Regions from separate parts of the Homo sapiens genome. Here region 2 is linked to region 1. Evidence: promoter capture Hi-C in human tissues and cell types (Jung and others, 2019). All regions are on one chromosome and are shown on one strand. Each heading gives the region's core, a stretch centred on a gene start or on the middle of the fragment in contact. The rest is flanking DNA. Distances are from core to core; before and after follow the strand shown. Region 1 holds the start of TCERG1L (transcription elongation regulator 1 like). Region 2 has its middle 74 kb from the start of TCERG1L.

Region 1 (5,297 bases), core at 484-2,983:
TGGGGGGTGGCAGGGGCATGTGAGCCTGCCTGGAGACGCCTCCCCAATATCCTGATCTGGCTCTGACCATTAAACTAACACATTTATAACACATGTGCACATACTAATATATGCACATAAATTAAGGGTGTAAGTGAATAGTAACAGCCTTCTAATGTGCAGAGCTTTCTGATTTTAGGTGAATAAAAAAAATGCCAGTACTTTTGCATCAAAGAGAGAGATAAACTTGCTAATTGAAAACTGGTTTTCGTGGAGGAAAATATGGAGGCGCCAGCTATGTAAATCAGCATATGCCCAGATCTAAAAGAAATCAGGCCAGGCCAAGAGGAAATTAAGCAAATCAGGATAATGAGGAAACAACCCTAGACGCAAATTAAAAGCACTCGGGTGCTTTAGGCCATCTCAGGAGGTTGGCAGTGGACAGGTGGGAGGTGATGCGAACACGGGTTTGGAGTACCAGGCGTGTCAGTGCCGCTGGGTGGGTGGGTGCCTGCTCTCCCACCCAGGTCAGGGAGGGTTTTTCATGCAAGTTCTTAAATGCATGGATCATAATGCTGCCTTTTGCATCCAGAAAGACCCTTCAAATGCCTCTAACAACACTGGTCTCGCGCTGGCATTAGCTGTGCTTGGGTTTCCTGGGTTTAGCGACCTAAGGGGTTTACAGCGCACGGAAGTCTCTGCCCAGCTGTCAGCGCGCGTCGCCAGGGGCTGCACTGAAGCTGTGGACCCGGGATGGGGAGGAGGCTGGCGGCCTCCGAAGCAGGGTCTACAGCGGGGGAGGGCTAGCGCCGTCTGGCGGTGGCTGCGCGTGGCCAGTGCGGACCCAGGCTCGGCTCGGCCGGCGCTGCCTGCGTGTGGTCCGGGCGGAGCGAGGGTCCTTGGAGCCCGGTTCGTCCTGGGTCCCAGGAAGCTCGGCGTGCAGCGTCAGAGGCCGCGTGTGCTGGGGGAGGGAGGAGTACAGACTGTGCCTGGGGGCATCCAGGACGAATTCACAGAGGGGTGGTCCTGCCCCACCCAGGGGGTGTCGTGGGCAAAGGCCCTGGGGCCACCTGCCTGGTGCCTTGGAGGGCGTAGGGCAGGAGCCGCCGAGGCCCGCGGGCCACTGTGGGGCGCGGAACTTCAGACCAGGCACCCGCGGCTCAACTTCCGGGCCAGGGGACCCGCGGGGGCCTTACGAACCTGTTTGGCCCATTTGTGCAACAGAAATCCGCCCGCGCCTAGCAGCGTCCGGGGCCGCCTGCGCCGGATCCGCAGCCCAGTACCCTCCGCGCCCTGGACTCCGAGGAGGCCAGGTAGAGAGCGGCTCGCGCGGTCCCCGTCTGCGCCCTCAGCCCCGCGCTGGGCAGCGGGACATGCCTGGCTCCGGCGCCGCCACCTCGGCTTCCGCTTGCCCTTGAGTGCGGAGCCCGGAGCCTCCCTCGCGGTGCGCTGGGTCCCAGAGGGCCAGAGGCCACCAGGGGGCCGGCATCGGCGGGAGCCCAGCCGGGCGCGCCCTCGGCCCTCTCCCACCCACGTCCTCCGCGGCCGCCCGGGTCCAGGGGCGCAGCGGGGAGGAGACCCCGGCCAGGGCCGGGGAGCGCGAGGGCGGGGCGGGGTCCGGCGGGGAGGGGCGCGGGCGGGCGGGGACCGGGGCGGGGGCCGGGTCCGGGGGCGGCGGCGGCGCGGGCGGGAGGAGGAGGAGCTTCCCGCGCGGGGCAGGGGCGGAGCGAGCGGCCGCGCCGCGGAGCCAAGTGAGTTCGCTCCGGAGCCGCGCCGCCGCCGGCCCAGCATCTCGGGCGCCCGCCGCCCCCGCCGCCGCCGTCAGCGCGGGGATGTAGGATGCAGGCGGGCGCCAGGTTCCAGCGGCGGCGGCGGCAGCTGCAGCAGCAGCAGCCCCGGCGGCGGCAGCCTCTCCTCTGGCCGATGGACGCAGAGCCGCCGCCGCCGCCGCCCTGGGTCTGGATGGTGCCGGGCTCGGCCGGGCTGCTCCGGCTCAGCGCGGGGGTCGTGGTTCCCCCGGTGCTGCTCGCCTCGGCCCCGCCGCCCGCGGCCCCGCTGCTCCCCGGTCTCCCCGGCTGGCCGGCCCCGAGCGAGCCGGTGCTCCCGCTGCTGCCGCTGCCCTCTGCGCCAGACTCCGCCGCCGCCGCCGCCGCGCACCCCTTCCCCGCGCTCCACGGGCAGGTAACGTGTCCCCGTCCCGCCTCGGCCCGGGTCGCCGTCTCCCCTGCTCCTGGGCGCGCCCTGCCCGGCCCGGCTCTGGCCTCCGGCTCGCGCGCCCTCCTCCCCGGCGGTCCTCGCCGCCCCAAACCCTCAGGACGGAGCCCGGCAGCCGTGCCTCGGCGAGAAAGTTCGTGCTTGGACGCCCGGTCGTCCACCTCCGCAGCTTTGGCAGGTGCCTCCGGGTGTCTGGACGGAGCCGTGGAGGGACCCGCCGCCCAGGCCCGCGTGGGGACCGCAGGGAACTCGCGCCACGCCGGGGGTCACTGTCCATCGCGAGGTGCTGAAGTGGCTCCGTGACCGCCGCGGGCCGTGGCTGACATCGCGGAGAAGTTAGGACTTTCACAGTCTCTGCCAGACTTGAAAGCAAGCTGGAAATCGATAGCTGTTTCAGCTGTTTCAGATTCTAATCTGGTTTGGGTTTTTCCCCCTTTCATTTGAAAATAGACTCAGGGCAATGCTTAAGAGAATTCCAACCGACGGAAGTGGCCGGGAAATCCTGCCTTCGGTACTGAGGGATGTTACCGGAGATTCCCCTGCCCCAGGCCTGCCGGAGTCCACCACATTCGCTAATGCCACACTGCACTTTAGAACTAGAGTTTGGCTTTTAAGACATGGGATTAAAAAGAAAAAGTGACTGAACCTTTGATAAATGGTGCAGCAGAGCTAGGCGGGCTGGTTTGGGCAAGATTCATTGTCAGCTAACTATGCAGATGCATTTAAATCAGGGAATAGCGTGCATTTTATTCCAAGGATTGACCTCATTAGCATATTCAAACGGGTGTTATGTTAGAATACACCATTTGATTAATTTAATTCCAATATTATCTTGTGAGCTTTTCTAAAAGATGTTGTTAAACTCCTGCTAAATTGGTCTTTAGACTTAATGATACATCACATATGCAGCACTGGATATTGTATTTTTATGTGTGATGCAGTTTATTTTGGATTTTATTCAAGAAACGTTGGTAGTTTTTGCCGTATTTTGGAGGGGTGTTATATCAGAGTGCTGCCACTAGAGGTATATAATGTCAAGGAACTACATTTTTTAAATTCTGCTTTAAAAAACTGCATTTTTTCACTTATATAAATTTAAAAGAAAATTTAAAAAACCTTAGCATTAATCTTTTAAATATTTTTGTGCTACCCAGCTTCTGTAAAGTAAGAATATGTACAACCAGAAGAACATTTTCATGTAACAGGAACATCACAAATGCTTTTACGATTTTAAAACAATAGGTACTGAAACGTTCCATGTCATTGAGCAATGCATTTTATTAGTGCCTTATGAGGTCTCAGTTATTTTAATTAGAGAGACGGTGCCCTGAATTACCAGCCCCTTTCCATGACTGATGTTTTATTCTGTGTATTGAGATCTTCAACTTAGAAGATGCTTAGTTTTTTTTTTTTTTTTTTTTTTTTTGCCATAGAATCTATTTGTATTGGTGAACCTTGTATTGGTGAAACTTGGAATCTTAACTTCCTAGATATTTTCATTTTGAAAGTATTAGTTATTTGTAAAACGACAAAAGTAATTAATACAAAATGCAATGCTGAAAGGAATATTATAAAATATAGCCCTAAGCCTGCCTATAAAAATAATTTAAGAATTAGAAAAGGAATACCCAGCATTTCTCTTCTTCATGGTGATTTCTCATTATCTCAGAGCAGAAACCCATTTCTTACTGCGTGCTTGTGGTTTTGTGCTTAGAAGTTCTTTTTCAGTATTGAAGAATGCAATGTTGGTAATGCTTTGTGATGATTCAGATATGAAAACTTCTATAATTTTTTCTTTGATTGGTACATACTTATAGTTTTTCTCGAGGAAATTTATCTGATAATCAAATACATACATTTTGAAATTCCCTTTTCAAAGCAGTTATTCCAGCATGTTTTGGCATGAAGTCGAGTGGATGGATTCAGGCTAATGCAGCTGTCTTTTCTTGCTTGGCTTGCAGTGGCTGTTTGGTGGCCATTCTCCGTCCCTAGGACTGCCCCCCTCTTCCACAGTGGAGCTGGTGCCCGTCTTCCCACATCTCTGCCCTTCTGCTCTTGCAACCCCTATTGGGAAAAGTTGGATAGACAAAAGGATTCCTAACTGTAAGGTAAAAACGCAAGTGATTTAATTGGATAAGGGGCTTTTAATGATTAAGTTGTCGAACATCGACATAACAACAAAAATACCCATGTATTTTCTTGTTGCCATAAATTGGCCATCTAGGTATAGAAATAAATCATTTCAGGATTAGATTGATTTGTTCAAAAATATCAGCTGGTGGGGGGCATTTTGTTTTAGTTTAGGATATTTGGATTCCACAGGGCAATGTAAAATTTCCAATTTTTGAATCAGAGTCTTTTTTAAAATTTTTTTGTTTTTAAATTTGTATCCATTGATCAAAAATCTAGACTTGAACATTACACAATACCAGTTGAAGTTTTAAAAGTCAGTTTTTCTTCATATGATGCTTTAAGTTTTCATCTTTCTAATGGTTTGTTTTGGCTTTCGGGTTCAAATTTACTGACTACATTTTGTTCACAAGGAAACTAAAGAAGTAAAGTATTGACTTGTCATACAGCTTAGTCATTATCTCATTGGGGTGATTCTTCAATCAGTGAACTGAACTGCTGGGCTGAAGTGACCAAGTCAATAGTTGAAGGCCAGCCCAGAAGACATTAGCTAGATGGTGATCGGTATTGAAGCCCTGTGGAACTTCTTTAAGTTTTAGAATGATGGTTTTATAGAGTCCCCAATAATAGAATGTTCAATGTTGGATCAACGTAAGGCAACACAAATATTTTCATGGTCATGCTCAGCTTTTATCATGCACCTTGCCTTCAGTGTTATGCTTGCATTATTTTTCGACAGATCTTTTTTAATAATTCCTTTGCTCTGGACTCAACGTGGATACATCCTGAGGAGTCAAGGTTTTTCCATGGGCATGAAAAGCCTCGTTTGCTGGCAAATCAAGTAGCTGTGTCTCTGTCCAGGCCGGCTCCTGCCTCCAGGCCGCTCCCCACGGTGGTGTTAGCACCTCAGCCCATCCCAGGTTGGTGCCCAAATAACATTGACAATGTCTGTTTCATTTTTGCTTCAATCATAA
Region 2 (5,162 bases), core at 2,481-4,980, 73 kb before region 1:
TAAGAGAAAGATGCCAACCAGAAACATTGTTTGAATCCAGCTCTAGGACATTCTGGAAAGAAGCCAACCAAAAACACATTGTATGACTCCAACTCTAGGACATTCTGGAAAAGGCAAAACTGTGGAAGCAGGGAAAAAATCAGTGGTTTCAGGGGTTGGGGGAGGGAGGGAGGCATGGGTGGAGCACAGGAGACTTTTAGGGCAATGCAGCTGCTCCGTGTGATACCATAAGGATGGGTCCATATCATGATGCATCTGTTCCAACCTACAGAATGTCCAACAACAGTGAGCCGTCAGTAAACCATGAACTTTAGGTGATAATAATACATCATTACCGACTCGTTAATTGTAACACCCAGCACAGTGGTGCCTGTTAATGGTGGGGGAGGCTGGGAGGAAGGAGAGGGGTACATGGGAAATCTCTGCACCTTCCGTTCAATTTTGCTGTAAACCTAAAACTTCTCTAAAAAAGTAAGTCTTTTAGAAATATCAGTGCTCAGAGCACCAGTGGTTTGTCAATGATGAGGATAGCTGCACTGCAGCTGGCACACAGCCAGTGTCCCCTGAAGTGGGAGTGGGCACAGGGATGGCCGAGGGGAGCCGGGCAGAGCTGGAGCCCTGGGGACAGCTGGGAGGGTGCACAGGGATCTCGGGGTCTCCAAGGGAAGCCGCTGCAGAGGAGCAAGAGAGACAGCGGGAGGCCCAGGCCACGGGCCATGGTTATGCTGCAGCCGAGGAGCTATTTCCATCACAAGAGGGAAAAACACAGCACACCGTGGGAGCCAACCCAGGTGCAGCAAAACACAGCTAGGTTTCGCTTAGAAACAAAAACACAAAAAAGAGGCCCCCTGCAAGTCCTCATACTTGTTCTAAGGGCAGGAGCTGGAGACTTGAAAAGGTGAGGGCAAAGAGAGACGACTGAGGAAGCCCAGGGAGCTGCAGGTGGGCTAACGCTGGGTGGGTGCTGGGCCAGCTTTGCCTTGAAGCTCCTTCACCAGCACTCCTCCCTCTGCTCCTCCCTCTGCGCCTCCCTCTGCTCCTGCCTCTGGTCCTCCCTCAGCTTTTCTTTCCACTCCTCCCTCCGCTCCTCCCTCTGCCCCTCTCTCCACTCCTCCCTTCACTCATGCCTCTGCTCCTCTCCTTTCTCTGCTCCTCCCTCTGCTCCTCCCTCTGGTCCTCTCTCGGATCCTCTCTCCACTCCTCCCTCTTGTCTTCCCTCTGCCCCTCTCTCCGCTCCTCCCTCCGCTCATTCCTCCATTCATCTCTCTTCTTCTCCCTCTGCTCCTCCCTGAATCCCTCTCCCTGCTCCTCCCTCCGCTTCTCCCTCTGCTCCTCCCTCTGTTCCTCCCTCTGGTCCTACCTCAGCTCCTCCCTCTTATCCTCCCTCTGCCCCTCTCTCTGCTCCTCCCTCTGCTCATTCCTCCATTCATCTCTCTTCTCCTCCCTCTGCTCCACCCTCAGTCCCTCTCCCTGCTCCTCCCTCTGCTCCTCCCTCTGCTCCTCCCTCTGATCCTCCCTCTGCCCCCTCTCTGCTCCTCCCTCCACTCCTCCCTCTGCTTCTTCCTCTGCTCCTCCCTCTGTCCTTCCCTCTGCTTCTTCGTCCGCTGCTCCCTCCACTTCTCCCTCCATTCCTCCCTCCGCTCCTCCCTCTGTTCCTTCCTTCTCTCCTACCTCTGCTCCTCCCTACCTCCTACCTTGCTCCTCCCTCTGGTCCTCCCTCAACTCTTCTCTCCACTCCTCCCTCTGGTTCTCCCTCTGCCTCTCCCTCTGCCTCTCTCTCTGCTCCTCCTTCAGCTCCTCCCTCTGGTTATTCCTCTGCTCCTCCCTCTGTTCCCCCATCTATCCCTCTCTCTGCTTCTCCCTCCGCTCCTTCCTCTGGTCCTTTCTCAGCTCCTCTTCACTCCTCCCTTTGCTCCTCCCTCTGCTTCTCCCTTTGCTCCTCCCTTTGCTCCTCCCTCTGCTTCTCCCTTTGCTCCTTCCTCTAGTCCTTCCTTAGCTCCTTTCTCCACTCCTCCCTCTGCTCCTCCCTCTGCCTTACTCTCCACTCTTCCCTCCACTCCTCTCTCTGCTCCTCCCTCCACTCATCCCTCTGCTCCTCCCTCTGTTCCTCCCTCTATCCCTGTCTCTGCTCCTCCCTCCGATCCACCCTCGGCTTCTCCCTCTTTTTCTCTCTCTGCTCCTCCCTCCACTTTTTCCTCTGCTCCTCCCTTCGCTCCTCCCTCTGCTCCTCCCTTTGCTCCTCCCTCTAGTCCTCCCTTAGCTCCTTTCTCCACTCCTCCCTCTGCTCCTCCCTCTGCCTTACTCTCCACTCTTCCCTCCACTCCTCTCTCTGCTCCTCCCTCCGCTCATCCCTCTGCTCCTCCCTCTACTCCTCCCTCTATCCCTCTCTCTGCTCCTCCCTCCGATCCACCCTCCGCTTCTCCCTCTTTTTCTCTCTCTGCTCCTCCCTCCACTTTTTCCTCTGCTCCTCCCTTCGCTCCTCCCTCTGCTCCTCCCTTTGCTCCTCCCTCTGCTTCTCCCTCCACTCCTCCCTCTGTTCCTCCCTCTGCTTTTCTCTCTGCTCCTCCTTTGGCCTCTCCCTTTGCCCCTCCCTCTGTGCTTTGCTGGTGTAAAAACAAATTCTGGTGACTTTTCCAGGCCATGAGTTCTGTCTGCTCCACAGACATGCAGAGTGGAAGGAAAACCACACAATACAACCAACGATGAAAGAACGGGTGAAGTTGATTACATCAACCATCTGTGACTCTTCTGGAATCCCTCAGCAGCAAGCTTTTCAGAATTCCTTAAGTCAAGCCAAATAGGATATTAAAAAAAAGGGGAGTTTAAAGTAATCATTGGGAGAATAAAAAAGACAAGAATAAGATAAGGATTTATTTTTATTTATGGGTCAAAAATCATATTTGACATGAAGTAATTTGTTTTACTGGGACTTATACACTTGAGAACAGATTGTGTGTGTGTGTGTGCATACGTGTACATGTGCATATGTTTCAGTGTGTGTTCGTATATGTGTATGTTTACTGGGACTTATACACTTGAAAACAGATTGTGTGTGTGTGCATATGTGTATGTGTGCATATGTTTAAGTGTGTGTTTGTATGTGTGTATGTTTTCATGCATGGATGGGTCTGTGTCTGTTTAGACACCTGGGCTTTTAACATTGTCAGGAAAATGAAAGTGTCAGAGCCCCTGGAGGCTCCTGGAATTCCCTGACTTATCCCCTGTGCGTGTTGGAGCGAAGGCTGGAGAGAAGGTGAGTGCTTGGCTGGTTCTCCAGGGCCCTGGGCTTTCCCAGTGGGAGTGTCAGCGTCCCCCACAGAGCCCCTGGCTCCGAACATGCTGCTGAAACACCGTTGTTATGCAGCGTTTTTCACTTAGAAACATTTCACATTGGTTAGCTCTAGCGAGAGTTTTAACTTTTTCCGGATAGTCATAGAGGCAGGATTGAGCAGTGATGAAGACCTCAGTCAAGTTCCCAGCTTAATACGCATTGATTAAAAACCTCTTCTTGACTCTTCTGTGTGGCCTGTGAGGTGGGACAAGAATCACCCTGCTTCCCAAGTTTGCATGGAAGAAGACTTTAGCAGAATATGAAAATATGGGGCTGGATGGCAGCTGATAACGATTGGCTATGAATAACATTAGCCAGTAATTCCAACTGGAGACTGCTATCCTCCGCTTTTACCTCAGAGATTATTAAATAGATAAAATGAGTTTTTCAGAATCTTTTAATAGTTATACATTATTCTAAGCTTTCAATTTCTATGCCTTTCTTTTCCCTTTGTGTTTATTTATATCTGACCATTTCCCCTCAACTCCAATACACCTTGTACTCAAATTGCTTATTTTTCCGCAGGATACCATTTCAGCCTCAGACATACAGTATCTGTAGCAAAGGCCTCAGACATTCTGGGAAAACCCAAATAGAATGTGCACAAGAGCTCAAGCTCAGGTGGCTCAGCTCCATGTCTGCAAAGCTGTGTAATTGCAGACTCCAGCTCCGAGTCTGGAAACAAAAACACAAGATGCAAACAATTTCTGGAAGGAGGCACACTGCATTTGGTTTTGGTGGCTACAGCTTAAGATTAGAGAGTGTTCACTATGAAAAATTTTTATAAAATTTCTAAATAACACTGAGGAGAGAAGAGAAATGCTACTCAAAGTAAATACTCCTTCCGACACTGGCACACACACACACGCACATATGAGCACCACCCTGAGTCACTTCAGTCCCTGGCCACCGCAGTGCAGGTTGAACAAACAGCAGATCCATAGCTGGCAACTGCTGAAAGAGCCATTGAGTGGGGAGGTGAAGAGTGTGGGCTTTGGGACCAGACAGGCCTGGGCTGAGCTCTAAGTTTTGCTATATGCCAGATATGTGGCTCTGGGCCTCTGTCTCCCCATTCATGAAATGAGCTGCTATGGCCTCATGGGTTATTGGGAAGCTTCTAGGAGATGGGACAATTTGCGTAGGAAGGATTTGGTAGGTGTGATCACATTTTGAGGGAGAATCAAACAGTTCTCTATTTCGTCCTAATTCTCAAAGCCGTGTGGGGACTCTCACGCCTGGATGAGGTGAGTGATGGTCCCAGTGTGCCTGGGACTTTCCTGGTTTTAAAATGGAAAGCCTGGCGTGCGGGAATCGGTCAGCCCCAGGCACGTGGGGATGGTTGGTCACCCTGTTTCCTTGGCACTCTCTACCTGCTCACATTTTCCCTCCCTCCTGGATCTGGGGATGGCCTGCTATTGTAAGACAAGTAAGAAGACGATGTGGAATAAGGGCTTTGGGACACAGTCTGGTTTGTTTCATTGATTGGTTTATAGTCAGGAATTATAATGGGCCATACCTTATTAAATGTTTATAATTGCTGTGAAACTCTTTATAATCGAAACAAGGAACAATTTATTGACACCAAAAGATTTGGACAGATGACTTTAACCTGCCTTTGATGGATTTTATTTTATTATTTTTGGCTCATCACCTTTATTTCTAGCATGTGGCATAAACCCTAAAAATACAATTGTCAAAATAAATATTTTCATTTAGATTATTTTCTTTTGTTCCAAAAGTTCGCAAAAGAAACACTGAACATTTCCCATTGTACCATCCAGTTTACATTCATCTGTTATGTTTTAATAGTTAATAGTTGTGGTGGGCAGGA

Evidence for each region. Contacts are between HindIII fragments. The study calls those that stand out against the background at their distance.
Region 2: a fragment that was not itself captured here is called in contact with the fragment with the promoter of TCERG1L in region 1 in 2 of the 25 tissues and cell types used here (hippocampus and spleen).

What each region holds. Positions count from the first base shown.
Region 1 is chr10:131,308,157-131,313,453 of GRCh38, reverse strand. It overlaps TCERG1L (transcription elongation regulator 1 like), which reads left to right and starts at 1,733. Exons shown (of 12, transcript NM_174937.4): 1 at 1,733-2,160; 2 at 4,155-4,301; 3 at 5,063-5,243. The coding sequence starts at 1,819. It overlaps LOC101927461 (a long non-coding RNA gene), which reads right to left and starts at 1,598. Exons shown (of 3, transcript XR_242763.6): 1 at 1,180-1,598. The HindIII fragment of the contact is 8,672 bases long and covers 1-5,297 here.
Region 2 is chr10:131,382,810-131,387,971 of GRCh38, reverse strand. No RefSeq gene overlaps it. Among named protein-coding and RNA genes, the nearest start is that of TCERG1L, 74 kb to the right of the region's middle. The HindIII fragment of the contact is 4,705 bases long and covers 1,378-5,162 here.